2 separate regions of the Homo sapiens genome follow, and region 1 is linked to region 2. Evidence: promoter capture Hi-C in 16 types of primary human blood cells and fetal thymus (Javierre and others, 2016). All regions are on one chromosome and are shown on one strand. Each heading gives the region's core, a stretch centred on a gene start or on the middle of the fragment in contact. The rest is flanking DNA. Distances are from core to core; before and after follow the strand shown. Region 1 overlaps CCDC88C (coiled-coil domain containing 88C). Region 2 holds the start of TTC7B (tetratricopeptide repeat domain 7B).

Evidence for each region. The method cuts DNA at HindIII sites, captures the fragments that hold promoters and counts their contacts. A CHiCAGO score of 5 or more calls a contact.
Region 1: a fragment that was not itself captured here is called in contact with the fragment with the promoter of TTC7B in region 2 in 1 of 17 cell types (megakaryocytes); the score reaches 5.3 in megakaryocytes.

The regions. Positions count from the first base shown.
Region 1 is chr14:91,283,479-91,290,524 of GRCh38, reverse strand. CCDC88C (coiled-coil domain containing 88C) reads left to right here. Exons shown (of 30, transcript NM_001080414.4): 25 at 1,182-1,420; 26 at 7,008-7,046. Among named protein-coding and RNA genes, the nearest start is that of GPR68, 42 kb to the right of the region's middle. The HindIII fragment of the contact is 3,724 bases long and covers 1-3,300 here.
Region 2 is chr14:90,812,122-90,818,712 of GRCh38, reverse strand. TTC7B (tetratricopeptide repeat domain 7B) reads left to right here and starts at 2,283. Exons shown (of 20, transcript NM_001010854.2): 1 at 2,283-2,538. The coding sequence starts at 2,418. RefSeq lists a silencer at 2,110-2,289. The HindIII fragment of the contact is 10,969 bases long and covers 1-6,591 here.

The sequences.
Region 1 (7,046 bases), core at 189-2,688, 470 kb before region 2:
GACATGTCTCTTCCCCAGAGAGCAGCAGCTCTCCCCAAGTGGGGCTGGCCCACCCTAGCAGTGCTGCCCCTTGTCCACGGCCTGAGCCCCAGGAATTGTCCCTTCGGATTGTCCTGGCCCAGCCTTGAAGTCAAAATCACTGCAAATCCCTTGAGGTCTCTCTGGGAATCCAGAACCACAGAATTTCCGAACCTCAGTCTGTTTTTGGTTTTTGTGTGTGTGCTTATTGTTTTGTTTTGTTTTGTTTTGTTTTGAGACGGAGTCTCGCTGTGACATCCAGGTTGGAGTGCAATGGCACAGTCTCAGCTCACTGCAACCTCCGCTTCCCAGGTTGAAGCCATCCTCCTGCCTCACCCTCCCGAGTAGCTGGGATTACAGGCATGTGCCACCACGCCCAGCTAATTTTTGTATTTTTAGTAGAGATGGGGTTTCACCATGTTGGCCAGGCTGGTCTCGAACTCCTGACCTCAAGTTGATCCACCCACCTCGGCCTCCCAAAGTGCTGGGGTTACAGGCGTGAGCCACCATGCCTGGCCCAGAACCTCAGTCTGAATCTTCTGTTTGACACAGAAATTGAAGCCAAGATGAGAAACTGGAGTGATAATATAAATAGATGCTGTTTCGTTTCAGAGACGGGGTGAGAGCACAGGCAGGGTTCTCTTCATGTCACACCAGGATGCCCTCGGTGTCCAGCTCGCTGTGATGTTATTGCTTACTCTTTAAATGCACTGATTTTTAATCAAACAGCCTGCTCTCCTCTGCCCTCTCCACCTCACCCAGATTACTCAGTGCCAGGGAGGAGTCAAGGGAATGCCAGCTTATTTCACTGATTATTAACTTTAGCAGAAAATGAGATTCATGGAAATGGCTTTTTGACAGAAAAATTGCCAACTAAATTAAGCACGGCATCACTTCCTTCATCCTGGGAGACTAGAGTGGATTTCTGTCACAATGCACATGGCTCTACCATCCCCAGCCCTGTGCCAAACTGAGAATTAAGTTCTAGCTCCTGAGCCCCAAATATGATTACCATGGTCATGAGCGTCATTGTCCTGAACCCCACGTGAGTGGCCTAGCTTCCCAGACTGGGGAAGAACATCCCAGCCCATGTTAGGGAACCAGGGACCCACTGGGGGTGTGTGGGAGGGCTGGCTATGTCCTAAACATCTACTTCTAACCAGGAAGAACCACTGGATTGGAGCCAAAGCCTTAGTCAAACTCATCAAACCAAAGAAAGAGGGTTCGAGGGAACGCTTAAAATCCACCGTGGACAGCCCTCCCTGGCAGCTGGAGTCCTCAGACCCCGCCTCGCCGGCGGCCTCTCAGCCGCTCAGATCACAGGCCGAGAACCCCGACACCCCCGCACTGGGCTCCAACTGTGCAGAAGAGCGCGACGCCCACAACGGGTCTGTGGGGAAAGGTAGGGGCGGCCGTCCTGGCCGTGGTCGGGTGAGGAAGGGGGTGTCCTGAAGGGTCCCGCACCGGTGGCTGTGCACACGTGTGCAGGAACGTGCCAGGGGTGGGTGACTGCATGTGCGCCTTCGCTTAGATGTGTTACGAGCCAAGTAGAAATTCAGCGTGGCGACCGTTTTGTCCCATAATGCTTTTGTTACTTTATTTTATATTTTATTTTAATTTTTTTGAGATGGAGTTTCACTCTTGTTGCCCAGGCTAGAGTGCAGCCTGGCTGCCTCCCAGGTTCAAGTGATTCTCCTGCCTCAGCCTCCTACGTAGCTGGGATTATAGGCGCCCACCACCACGCCTGGCTAATTTTTTGTATTTTTAGTAGAGACGGGGTTTCACCATGTTGGCCAGGCTGGTCTCGAACTCCTAACGTCAAGTGATCCACCCGCCTCAGCCTCCCAAACTGTTGGATTACAGGCGTGAGCTGCCACGCCCAACCACTTTTGTTGTTTTAGAACAAAAGGTATCATTCATCATGTAGCCGGGCAGATATCTCAATATCCAAAGCTGACATTCGTGCAGGTACCATAGAGACAAGCGACATAGCTTATTTTGGGCTGCCTCGTATGTGCCAGATTTGTAGAAAGCTGCTTTGTGCAGGGAGATCCCAGGTGCACTCAACACGTTCTCCATGTATATAAGACCTCCCGAAAGCCTTGGGTGGTTTATCTGTTACCACTTTGAAAGGTGGGTTAGGACTTCTTCAGCCTGATCTGGCCTTGTGTCCCACCAGCCACAGGACACACTGTGCCTTTTCCCTAAGGGCTGTCCTTTGGAGTTTGCCAGAGGTTCTGAAACAAGAACAGGATTTCTCATCATGTATGCTGTATTTCATCAACTCTCAGGAGCCATGAAAGCTGCACAGTTACTTTATATACCACGAGGCAATCAAACGGTACAGGGCCACCACTTCGAATTTTTCTTACGCTCTTGTTGAAAGAGCTTTTCTAAATAAGAATTCGATTTTTGTACACACACGTAAAAGGAAAATAGGACCAAGATGAGTTGGTTATGACCATGTCAGTTTTGTCACCGTGGCCACCTGGCCAGTGGTGACTGAGACATCACTGAAATTGCCTCCTAATTTCCAAGACGTTAAAGGTGTCTTAGAATCGATTAGACACAGCATTTACCTTACACATTGTTAAATTTTCAGCTTTACCTTTAAATATCATTTTGGGGAGATTATTTATCCCAGGCCTGCATCCCAAGTCATTTAAATTTTTACAAAGGACACTAGGACTTTCTGAAGACCCAGCCTATGCCTGAGACCCATGGGGTCTTGGAGGCGGAGGATATAACACTGAAGACCAGCGACAGGCTACCCTCTGAGTGTGGTGTGTGCACAAGCCTTTCAGGGGGCACATTCACAAGTACCTGTTGTGTCCCCTTCAGATGCAAAAAAAAAAAAAAAAAAAAAAAAAGACCTGGTGCAGTGGCTCATGCCTATAATCCCAGCACTTTGAGGGGCCAAGACAGGAGGATCACTTGAGGCCAGGAGTTTGGGACTAGCCTGGGCAACACAGGGAAACCCCCATCTACCAATATATATATTTTTATTTAGCCAGGTGTGGTGGCACGTACCTGTAGTCTCAGCTGCTCAGTCGACTTGAGCCCAGGAGGTCGTGGCTGCAGCGAGCTATGGTCATACCACTGTACTCCAGCCTGGGTGACAGAGTGACACCCCATCTCTAACAAAAATAATGTTCACGCACATTGTTCAGGGACTAACACACTGTCATTCTTTATGGGGATAAGATTAGATAGAGTCAGCACCGTAAGACAGGGTGAGAAGGAAAAAAATTAGAGGCCTCACATGCAAGTAAATGAGAAGCTTAACTTTTTTTAAGCTAGAGGGGTTCTGTTGCCTCAGGTTTTTATATTGGCTCCTGTTTAATTTTTGGACATTTGTCATCTCAACTTGTATTACTCTTTAAGTGGAATTAATTAACTATAATCAGTCTGAGTTAGGAAAACTTTCAGAGAAAAAAATGCTTGACTGGTCCAAAGTGATCCGTGAGCAAGCAGGTCTGTAAACCATGATCATGTTCACTAGCAGCCACCATGTCTTGGGTGCTCCCTCTGGGCCCAGCACCCTCTAACTACTTTATGTGCTTTATGCATCTCATTGAATCCTAACGACCCTATCAAGGCAGGTGGACGTGGCCTCCCCTGTGTAGAGGTGAGAAAGTGAGGCTCAGCAGTGTAAAACATTTGCTTTGGGTAAGTGGGACCCAAATGCAGGTCGGCCGCACTCCGGAGCCTGAGCTCTTAACTGCATGCACTTAACTGCATGGACTGCCTCCAGTTAAAGCTCTCTGGGTCCCTGAAGATGCCGAACAAGAGCCTAGCCCTGAACTGGCCACAAGGACACCAGCCTTGAATAAGTTGGTCCCTTATTCTGTGGTGTGAGCCACTGTGGCCACCAGGTGGTGCTGTGGAGGAAGAAATAATGGAAATCCTGGTATCAACTTTAATCCTACATCAGAAATTGGTTAGGTCGATTAATGTTACTATAAGACAGTTTAGGAAGTTAGCCCAATTGTCTGCTTTGTTAAGACACTAGAGGCTAAGGAGTGGAGGATTGGAGTGGAGGATGTATATAGAAGATCTAAAAGGAAATCATGATTCTTGGTGTTGAAGGGTTTTTTTTAGTATGCAAAGGAGGTATTTAAATTATTTTAAAACTCATCCTGCCGAAAGATTATTTTAGAGATACAGAATCATTAGTGAATACTTCAGGTAGAGTATTTGATTACAGCGCCCTGAAACGGATCATTGAATGTTCCCAAGGTCTTTGAGTGGGAACGGGAGGATTGTGTGAGCTGAGCTGTTAGGGACCCCATCATTAAAATGGATGAGTAAGAGAAGTTGGGCCCTAAATTAATAAGCATTAGTGTTTAATAATTTGGCACACTGAAACCGAAAAATCATCCAGACCATTGGCTCCTTGGGCAGTATGTAATTCTCCTCACACGCTGAGGAAATAAATTGTTGGCGTTCAGGTGCCTTTAAATTAATTGAGTCAGAGCACAGATGATTACTGAGCCCTGATTCTGTTCTTGAGTACTGTGTACTGTTTTCATCTTTCCTGGGCAAGACGGGATTCTGATTTCTTAAGTACATTTAGCTAATTTCGATTCATTTGTCATTATTGTTCATTTCATTTATTTGTGTTTTCTTTTTCCTTCCTCCTTTGGGTTATCCGATTGATAACAATTTAGCACCTCCGCGCAAAAAGAGTCCCTTTTTGAAAAGCAAAAACAAGGACAAAGACAAGTCTCCAACGACCCACCCAGCTCTCTCTAAACGCCTGCGGTTCTGGTCTTCCTCCGACATCCCATCCTCTCCTAACGAGCCTCTCTCTTTCTCCGACATTGGAGATTTCTAATCCCTTTCCTTTATCATGTGTCTGTATTGTGTACCCTCCTTCATTTCCGAAATTCAAACAAACAAAAAAAGCCAGCGTCTAAAAGGCCAGATGGCCGATAGCGGACCCCTCCTCCTGCCCCCAATTTCAAGCTTAAAGTAGCCAGCGTGGATTCTGATTTCAAAATAGAAGATGAGTTGTCACACTCCCTGGACCATTTCTTCAGCACAACACAGTTTTAGGGGGAGCCTCAGGATATACGTGCACATGTCCTTGGGCCAGGATGTCCGTACTAAGTAAGTCGAGTGGCCGTGCCCCCCTCCCGTCTCTTGCACCTGCGAGCTTATGTTTTGCCCGTGTGTCAAGCAGCACTGGCGGGTGGTTGCTGCACTTCCTAAAATGTACAGCCTCTGTCAAGTGAGGGTTTTTTTTAAGACTTATTTTTAAGCAGCTAAATTTAAAACTGCTGCCCTTTTCTCCTCTTCCTTTGTCAGAGCACTGAGTTGTGGGCCTTTTCCGGTAAGGCCCTTATAAAATGTGTTCTGTTTTGAAGGATTGATTGCTCCATTCAGGCATTTTGACTAATTGGATTGATTTTGCCCAGACAGAGTTCAGCCCAGAGTGAAGTTTTATGACTGTGCTGTGGTTTTATGACATCTTGGATGCTGAAGTTAAAACAGCAGGAGACAGAAAGAACATCAGCACACAAATCATGCCTCGAGCAAGGGAAAATGCCAGCCGGCCAGCTAGGCCATTACCTATGGAGCATTTCCTGTCTCTAGCCATCCCTGTACCACCTCCGTTATTTTTGTCATATCCTGATACCGTCTATGATTACCTACAAAAATATGATTACCTGCATGTTTTCCCTTACATTGATTCACAGTTTGTAGTTAAATGTATTAAAAGGAAAGATTAGTATCAGTCCTGTAAGTGGAAAACACACATATCATCATAAAAACAAGGTAATCATAAGAATAAACACATAATTACTAAAATATGAGAGTCGGTTAATGTGCCACTGACTTCATCTCATGAGCCTCGCTCTGGGAACCCTGGGCTGCCGTGGTGCCGGGTCCTCCAGACCTGCCTTCCGCGCATGCTGTTGGAATTGTGCTTTCTCTGTTCGCTGCTCATGCTAACTGTTCACTCATCTCTGCCTCCCCTGTGGATCCTCATTTTAGCTTCACCTGTAGGATGACCTGTCCCGATTCATTCCACCTGTCCCGATTCAGGCAGACTTGAATCTTGCTTCTCATCAAGGTTATCTTTCAAAATCCAAATTTCCCCTTGATTTCAAATCATCAGCTCTGGGCACTTAAAACTGCACAGTGAGCCCAGACTTTGAGTGGCTGGGAGGGCAGACGGCTTGATGGGTGGAGAAGCCGAACTGCAACAGTGAGTCCTGGCTCTGCACACGGAGTGGGACGCTCTGCAAAGTGCTTTGTCAGCTCTTAGGAATGCCAGCCATGTTCATTTTTATCTTGTGTTGGGAGAGCCTGTCCTCTTTCCTGTGGGGTACTTGGTTTTATGGGCTGTTTTTCTTTTATGATTTTATATGTTTTTATTTAATTTTGACCAGAGTTTATGTTCATGGTAGAAAAGTTAGAGATTTCAGAAAAGCACAAGACACAAGGTAAAAATTTTCTTGCAGTTCGTCTCACCATGCAGAGATTAAGGCTTCCCTTTTTGAAAAAACAGAATATTGTGAGGTTAGCAATAAACTTCTATTTGAAGTCCTTAGTGAGTCAGGTTAGCAGGACCTTCGGATCCTCAGCTACAGGCTTGGATCCTTGGAAGTCAGGGATTGGAGTTCCGGACAGTGTTACACAGGAGATGTGTCCTAGAGTGAATATGTGTGACTTTTACCAACAGTTTATCCCCTCAGGGGCTCCCTTTGTCTCCTCCCAGCCTCTCAGGGCTGGCAGTATGACCCCAGCATTAAAGCCAGAGCCATCCTCATGGGGCCTCTGACACCACCTGAAGCCAAGCCCTCTTGCCCCCACCTGCCCCGCCAGGCCCCATTTAAGTTGCAGCCCGAGAGCTGTGGCAGCCCCGCTTTTGTCTCTGTGGTCCTCATGCCCTGCTGCCCTGCTTCTAGGCCATGGTGTGGTTTCCCAGCCTGGGTACAGGACTTGGCAGCCTCATTTCTCAATGTCCTCTTCTGCCTCAGGCCCTGGGGATCTAAAACCAAAGCGAGGCTCCCCACACA
Region 2 (6,591 bases), core at 1,034-3,533:
GGGCACTAAAGGGTCCCCTGTTGAAACTCTAACGTTCTAGTTCCCCTTTCCCTGGGCTGTTCACAGTGTCCAGGGCCTGTCAGCTCAACTTCCATCACCTTGGCAGTCCCTGAGGCACCTGAAAGTGATACTGGTCACATCAGAACACATCTCCTTATCTTTCCTCCTCACCTCTCTTAAATGTCTGTGATTCAGCCTCCTCATTGGTAAACTGAGGTCCACAGTGTGTGTTCTTCATCAACTCCGGTGGTGGGGGAGTTGTGGTGGGGATAAGAACCTGCGTGTGACTGCTCTTGGAAAGTTGGAGTAAGGGCACCCAGAAGGAATGACGACGACCCCTCAGTGCCTCCTTGTGACTGCGGGCGGGCTACGGAACCTTCCAGACTGACCGCTTCACTCTCAAATGCAGGACCCAGAATCCAACACTGCCACCACCACAGCTATTTCCCTGGCAGTATTCTCAACACTGCAGTCACAGTGATAGTCCAAAGTGTAGGTCTGATCATGCCACTCTTCCGTGAAAAGCCCTGCAGGGCTGCTCCATGTCACCAGAGTAAAAGTCAAAGTTTTTTTTTTTTTTTTTGAGACGGAGTCTCTCTCTGTTGCCCAGGCTGGAGTGCAGTGCTGCCATCTCAGCTCACTGCAAACTCCGCCTCCCGGGTTCACACCATTCTCCTGCCTCAGCCTCCCCAGCAGCTGGGACTACAGGCGCCTGCCACCACGCCCGGCTAATTTTTAAAAATATTTTTAGTAGAGACGGGTTTCACCATGTTAGCTAGGACGGTCTCGATCTTCTGACCTCGTGATCCGCCCACCTCGGCCTCCCAAAGTGCTGGGATTACAGGCGTGAGCCACCGTGCCCAGCCAAAAGCCAAGGTCTTATAATGGCCCACCAGGCACTACACAGAACTCCCCCCAACCTCTCAGAGTTCATCTCCTGCCTCGGCCCCTCTCCTTCGCTCCACCCAGCCCCTCTGGCCTCTGCCATTTCTCCATCCCACCCAGTGTGCTCTAACCCCAGAGCCTTCGCACTTGTGGTGTTCTCTGCCTGGGATACTCCTCCCCCAGAGATATCCTCATGGCTCCCCCTTAGTTTCTTCAAGTCTAATGCCACCTCCGTGAGGCCATCCCTGACTGCTCCATTTTAAATGGCAACACTTGCTCAGGCTGAAGTGCGTTCACTGCTCACTGCAGCCTCCACCTTCTGGGCTCAAGCAATCATCCTGCCTCAGCCTCCTGAGTAGCTGGGATTACAGGCATGAGCCACCCGCCTGTCCCAACTCTTTATGTTCCTCACTGAACCCTTCCCTGTTTCTTCAAATAGCCATTTTTACAGTCTAGTTTACTATTTTATTTTGCTTATTTTTCCCCCAAACTGGAATGTAAGCTCTCTCAAGCCAGGAATTTTGTTTTTTTAGCTCACAATTCTATCTCTGGCACCTAAAGCAGCGCCCAGCACATAGTAGGTGATCACTAGACAGTTGATTCACTGAGAGAACACAGAGGGACACCTCCCTAGGTCTCAGTCTAGGTGGCCAAGACAGGAGGCCCCACCAGTGACTGTGCCTTCCCCTCAGGGGGTCCGAGAGCTGGCGTGTGAGAGTGGCAGCCCCTGCCTGGCTCCGCTCAGCCATCTAGGGCACCCCTGGCAGGTGCTGTGCCTTGCCTGGGATGGAGGAGTCTCCGTCCACCTCTGGCTGGGTAGGGGCTAAGGCTGCGGGGCAGAGGGGCATCTGCTAAGGGGCACAGGCCAACCGGGCCCCAGGGAACCGCTGGCCACCTGAGATGGCAGGACAAACTCGGGCAGGCCTCCCCCCACCCCTCACACCTGGCTCACTGGTCCCACCGGGCGGTGACCTTCCCCAGGGTCACTGCCCTTTCTTGGCCCTACTCCTGGGGATCCAACCCGCTCCCAGGCTGTCGCTAGCTCCCTCCCGATCCTCTCCCTCCCCTTCATCCTGCCCAGACCCCTACCCCACCAGACCCCTCACCCGCCCTTGGTCAGATCTCTCTCCTACCCCGCTCCCCCACCCCCATCCCCACTTCCCCTCGGTCTTCACCCCGCCCCAGACACCCCCAGTCCCTCTCCCTGTCCTCCATGCCCACCCCGCCTTTCCTCCCTCGGGCCCCTGTCTCCCGCCCTAGCCCCCGCCCCTGCCCCAGCCCTGGCTCCGGCCCCGGTCAGTGCTGCGGCTCCGGCCCTGGCCGGCAGGGGCCGCTCCTCGCGGCGCCCGGGGCCCCGCCGCGCCCGCCGCCGCCGCCCGCCTCCCCGCCCCTTCCCCAGCCGGCGCTCCCGTTACGCCGCGGAGCCGGGAGCCGGAGCCCGAGCCCGCGGCGGCGGCGGGAGGCGGCGAGGGGGCGCCGCGGCGGCGGCGGTGGGGCCTGCGGGGCGGGCGGCCGGGCCCGGCCAGGCCGCGATGGCGACCAAGAAGGCAGGCTCGCGGCTGGAGACGGAGATCGAGCGCTGCCGCTCCGAGTGCCAGTGGGAGCGGATCCCTGAGCTCGTCAAGCAGCTGTCGGCCAAGCTCATCGCCAACGGTACGCTCCGGGCGCGCCGGCCTGGGCTGCGGGGGGCGCCGCGGCCTCCGCGGGAACGGGCCCCCGAGGCGCGGCCGGGCGCGGGGCGCGGGCAGGGGCGCGGCCGGGCCGCGAGGGAGCTGCGGCCCAGGGGATGTGCGCGGGACCGGGGCCTGGGGGAGCCCGGGTGCCCCGGAGTCACGCGGTGTGGGGGCCCGGGGGGGCGCCAGGGGCTGTCCCGGCGCCTGGGGTTCAAGCGTGCAGGGCGGGCTTCTGCGGAGTCTGGGGTGTCCGGGGGTCTCAGCGAGTCCGCTGCTCCACTGGGACCACAGGAGGTCAGGGGCCGGCCTGGGGCTTCCAAGAAGTTGGAGGTGATGGGGTGAGGGGGTCCCTCAGGACATGGGTGAAGTCCACAGTGTGTGTATGGTGTGCTCAGGGAATCAGGATGTGTTTATGGGGTCTTGAGAATGGGGTGTTGTACATAGACCCCTGGGGAATCTGGTTTGTAAACATATGGTGTTTAAGGGGTTCTGGGTGGAAGCGCAGACTCGAGGTGTGTGGGGTGGTGGTAGAAAGCAGGCTGGGATGTGCGTCCTGGCGTTCGGAGAAGTAGCATCAAGGCTGCCGACCTAGAGAGGTCAGGGTTGGGAATAGAGGAGAAATAGAGTCAGGGGGACCTGGAGGGAGAATATTGTGGAGCGAGATGGGAATGTGGTTGAAGAATGTCGGGAGATGGAGTTGGGTGGGTGAGGGGTTGGTGCCTGGGCCAGAAGGGGGTCTGAGGCAGCCTCTGAGTAGGAGCCTGGTGCCTGGAGTTGGTTCATGACCCCTTTAACTGGATTGGTTCTTGTACCCAATCAAATAAAATTGCATCCAGAATCCCATTCCAGTGCACAGCTCCACGTGGCCTTATTTGTTTTGGAAGCGAGTATCTTTAATATTTGCTTGTCTTTTAGTACCCGCCTAAAGCGCAGGCACCAGCACACCGTGGCCAGAGGGCAGAGGGTTTGTCTCATTTCATCCTGGGCTTCCCCAGGCCCAGTGAGCACATGTTGGCTGAACAAATGAATGAAAGAGTGAATGAATGGATGGCGGGGCTGCTCTAAGAAAGGACATCTGCACTATTTTCAACCTTCTCACTTCAGACTACCCAGAAAGGAGAGGGATGTCAGGTGTCCTCCTGGAGGGTGGTTTATGTTTGTGTCCTATGGTATTAGTGCCTGGAAATTAGAACTTGGTTTTGCGCACTCTCAATGATGGATGCATGCTGTGGGCAGGTACCTTCTGGGTGAACGCAGGTGCCATGGTGTGTCAGGGGCATGGAGATAGCACCGACCCTACACGGGCTCCACTTGGTGGAAAATGTGGACCCTTCTCAGTTATGTCAGCCTTTGAGGAGATGGTGTTCAGTGCCCTGGGCCCCAGAGGCAGCTTGCCTTTGCCCTCCGTGTCGGGCTCACCTGCTTCTCCGCTTACCTGCAGCATTTTCTCTTTTCCTCTCGGAGTTGCACAGTCCTGGGTCTACTTTGTGGCTTCCCAGCGGTGTAGGCATAATGACACCTTCTGTGCAGGTTGATTTTAGGATTAAATGGGTTTATTTGTGAGCCTCCTGGTCTTTTTTCTTCTGAATCCACTTGTTTCCTGCTGTCTTTGCTTATTCATTCACCCAATATTTGCGTGCCCACCTGTGCCAGTCACAGAACAGTGGTGAACAGCACTGACCAAGCCCCTGCCCTTATGCCCTCACCCTGCTCTCAGGAGGCAGGTGATAAGCAAATATGGAAATAAATAAACAGCACAGCTTCAGATAGTGAGAAGTGATTGAAACAAAACAGATGAGTTAATGTGATTGAGAATGACAGGCAGATGAAGGGGGACTCAAGCTATGATGGTCCCTGGAATGAGAGGGTAGATGGGTTTTTGGTGGCCTGGGCCCTTCCTATTCACCTTCATGGCCCCCGAAAGGCTTAGCTCTCTTCCCAGGGGCTGCTCCCAATGTCCTAAGATGCAGTCATGAGTGGGGCTTGGGGATCGGGGTTTGCGGGGGCACTGTGGTCCATGGGTCTGTGTGCAAGTTCAGTTTGGGGAAACTCATGGGACATAGATTTTTGTCCTAGAGACTCACATGGTGAGTGGTAGCCATTGATGGCAAAAAGTTACCCGGACTTGAAAAGATCAGACAGAGTGAGTGCTCAGGAAAATAAAACGATGAAGCCAAGAAAAAGATGAAACTAAACTAGAATGATTGTGGCTCTCCTTTGGTGTTTGCAAGAGGGGCCTTCCCTCCGTTTGACTGGTGAGGCCTTCCCACTCTCGGGCTGGTAGAGGGACTTCTTCCTGGCTTTTGGGGGCACCGGCTCCCCCATAGATTCTCGGGTGCATGAGCACAAGTTCTGGGCAGATTTTGCAAAATCCTGAAGTTAAAGCATCTTCTGCTTAGAATAAGGAAAGCAAGTGAATGTCACGTTTGTCACACTAAGACAGTTACCATGAAAACAACCACAGGCGAAAAAAAAAAAAAAAGAATACAGTGTTTGGAGCCAGCCAGATGGGGGACTGATTCTTGTGACCTTGGCCACTTCTTGACTTTGTGACATTGGCCAAATCACTTAACCACTCTGAGCCTCAGTTTTCTCATTTTAGAACGGGATTTAAATGACTTACCTTGCAGGGGTTGTTATGAGGGTTAAAGTAGCTAATGTCTCTCAGGGCCAGCCACTCATTCCTTCCTTCCTTCCACAAAGATTGAGTACCTGCTCTGTGCTAGCCACTGTTTTAGGCACTGGAAATACACTGGTAAACAAAACAGACAAAAATGGCAAAAATCTCAGCCCTTATGAAACTCACATCCCAGTAGGAAAGGGGCAGGGAGACAGATAATCAATATAATCATTAGGTAAAGTTTACAGGGTGTCAGATGGTGGTCAGTGCTATCAAAGAGAAAAAGGGGAAGGTGAATAGGTGCTTTGGAGTGGGCTGGGAGTGGGGGTTGCAGGAACTACTAGTTTAAATAGGGTGGCCCTGAAAGGTGTCCCCAAGAAGGCAACATCTGAGATGAGACCTAAGGAGGTGGAGAAGCATGTTCTAGGGAGGGAACTTCATGGGTAGAAAGTGGCGGGGCCTGATAGGCCGAGGGTAAGGCTTTGGCTTTCCTGTGAGTGAGACAGGGCTATGGGAGAGTTCTGAGCAGAGGAATCCCTCCTTCCCAAAGCTCCCACTTGTAGTGGGCTTCCCCACCCAGCAGCATTAGCTCCTTACGGGAAGGAAGCGTGGCAGCCCCTCCCCGTTAAGGACTCTAAATAGTGGACACTTTCAGAGTGTACTGCCCCAGCCTGGCTCCTTTGAGATGAATTGGTTTAGATGTTTTGCCAAGAGGTGGATAAGGAAGAAAAGGACAAATGCCAAGTTGAAAAGTGAACCCAGAGGTCTGTCTTCTTCCTCGTACCCTACCGTAGTCACCATTTTCATTGCACCATCTCAAAAAACCCAAATGTGGTGGAACCTAGCTGTGCACCAGACCCGGGTGAGTCCCACTGAGAGAATGGTCACCTAAGTTAAGGGTGGGGGTGGGAGACAGTCCCCCGGAAGCCTAGGCCCTCGTGGGCTGAAGTGTGGCCTGGGGATGAGTGGCAGGGGCACCACCGGGAACCTGTGAGAAATGCGGATTCTTGGGCCGGCTTCAGACGTGCAGGGTTAGAATCCACATCTCAGCAAGGTGTCCAGGGGTTTGGGGGACTCAGAGAAGCCTGAGGTGCCCTGGCTTGGAGCTGAGGCAGCAGCCTGAGCGCTCAGGGATAAAGACAGAGCTGCACATCAGCTTCATGTGGGCTCACAGGTCGGTCCTGGTCTCTGGGAGGACAGGCCCAGCTGTCCTCTCTCTACAGAATGTCACCCTCCAGCCTCCCAATGATGAGGTCACCACTGTGTGTGAAAGTGCAGTGACCTGGCACCGGGTCTAAAATTTGGACCTTACCTGTAGTGGCTAGGTGATCTCCAGCCAGGTTCTTAGCCTCTCGGAGCCTGCCTTTCCTCCCTGCTCAGCCAGCTCAGAATGCCCACTCTCAGGGCACGTGT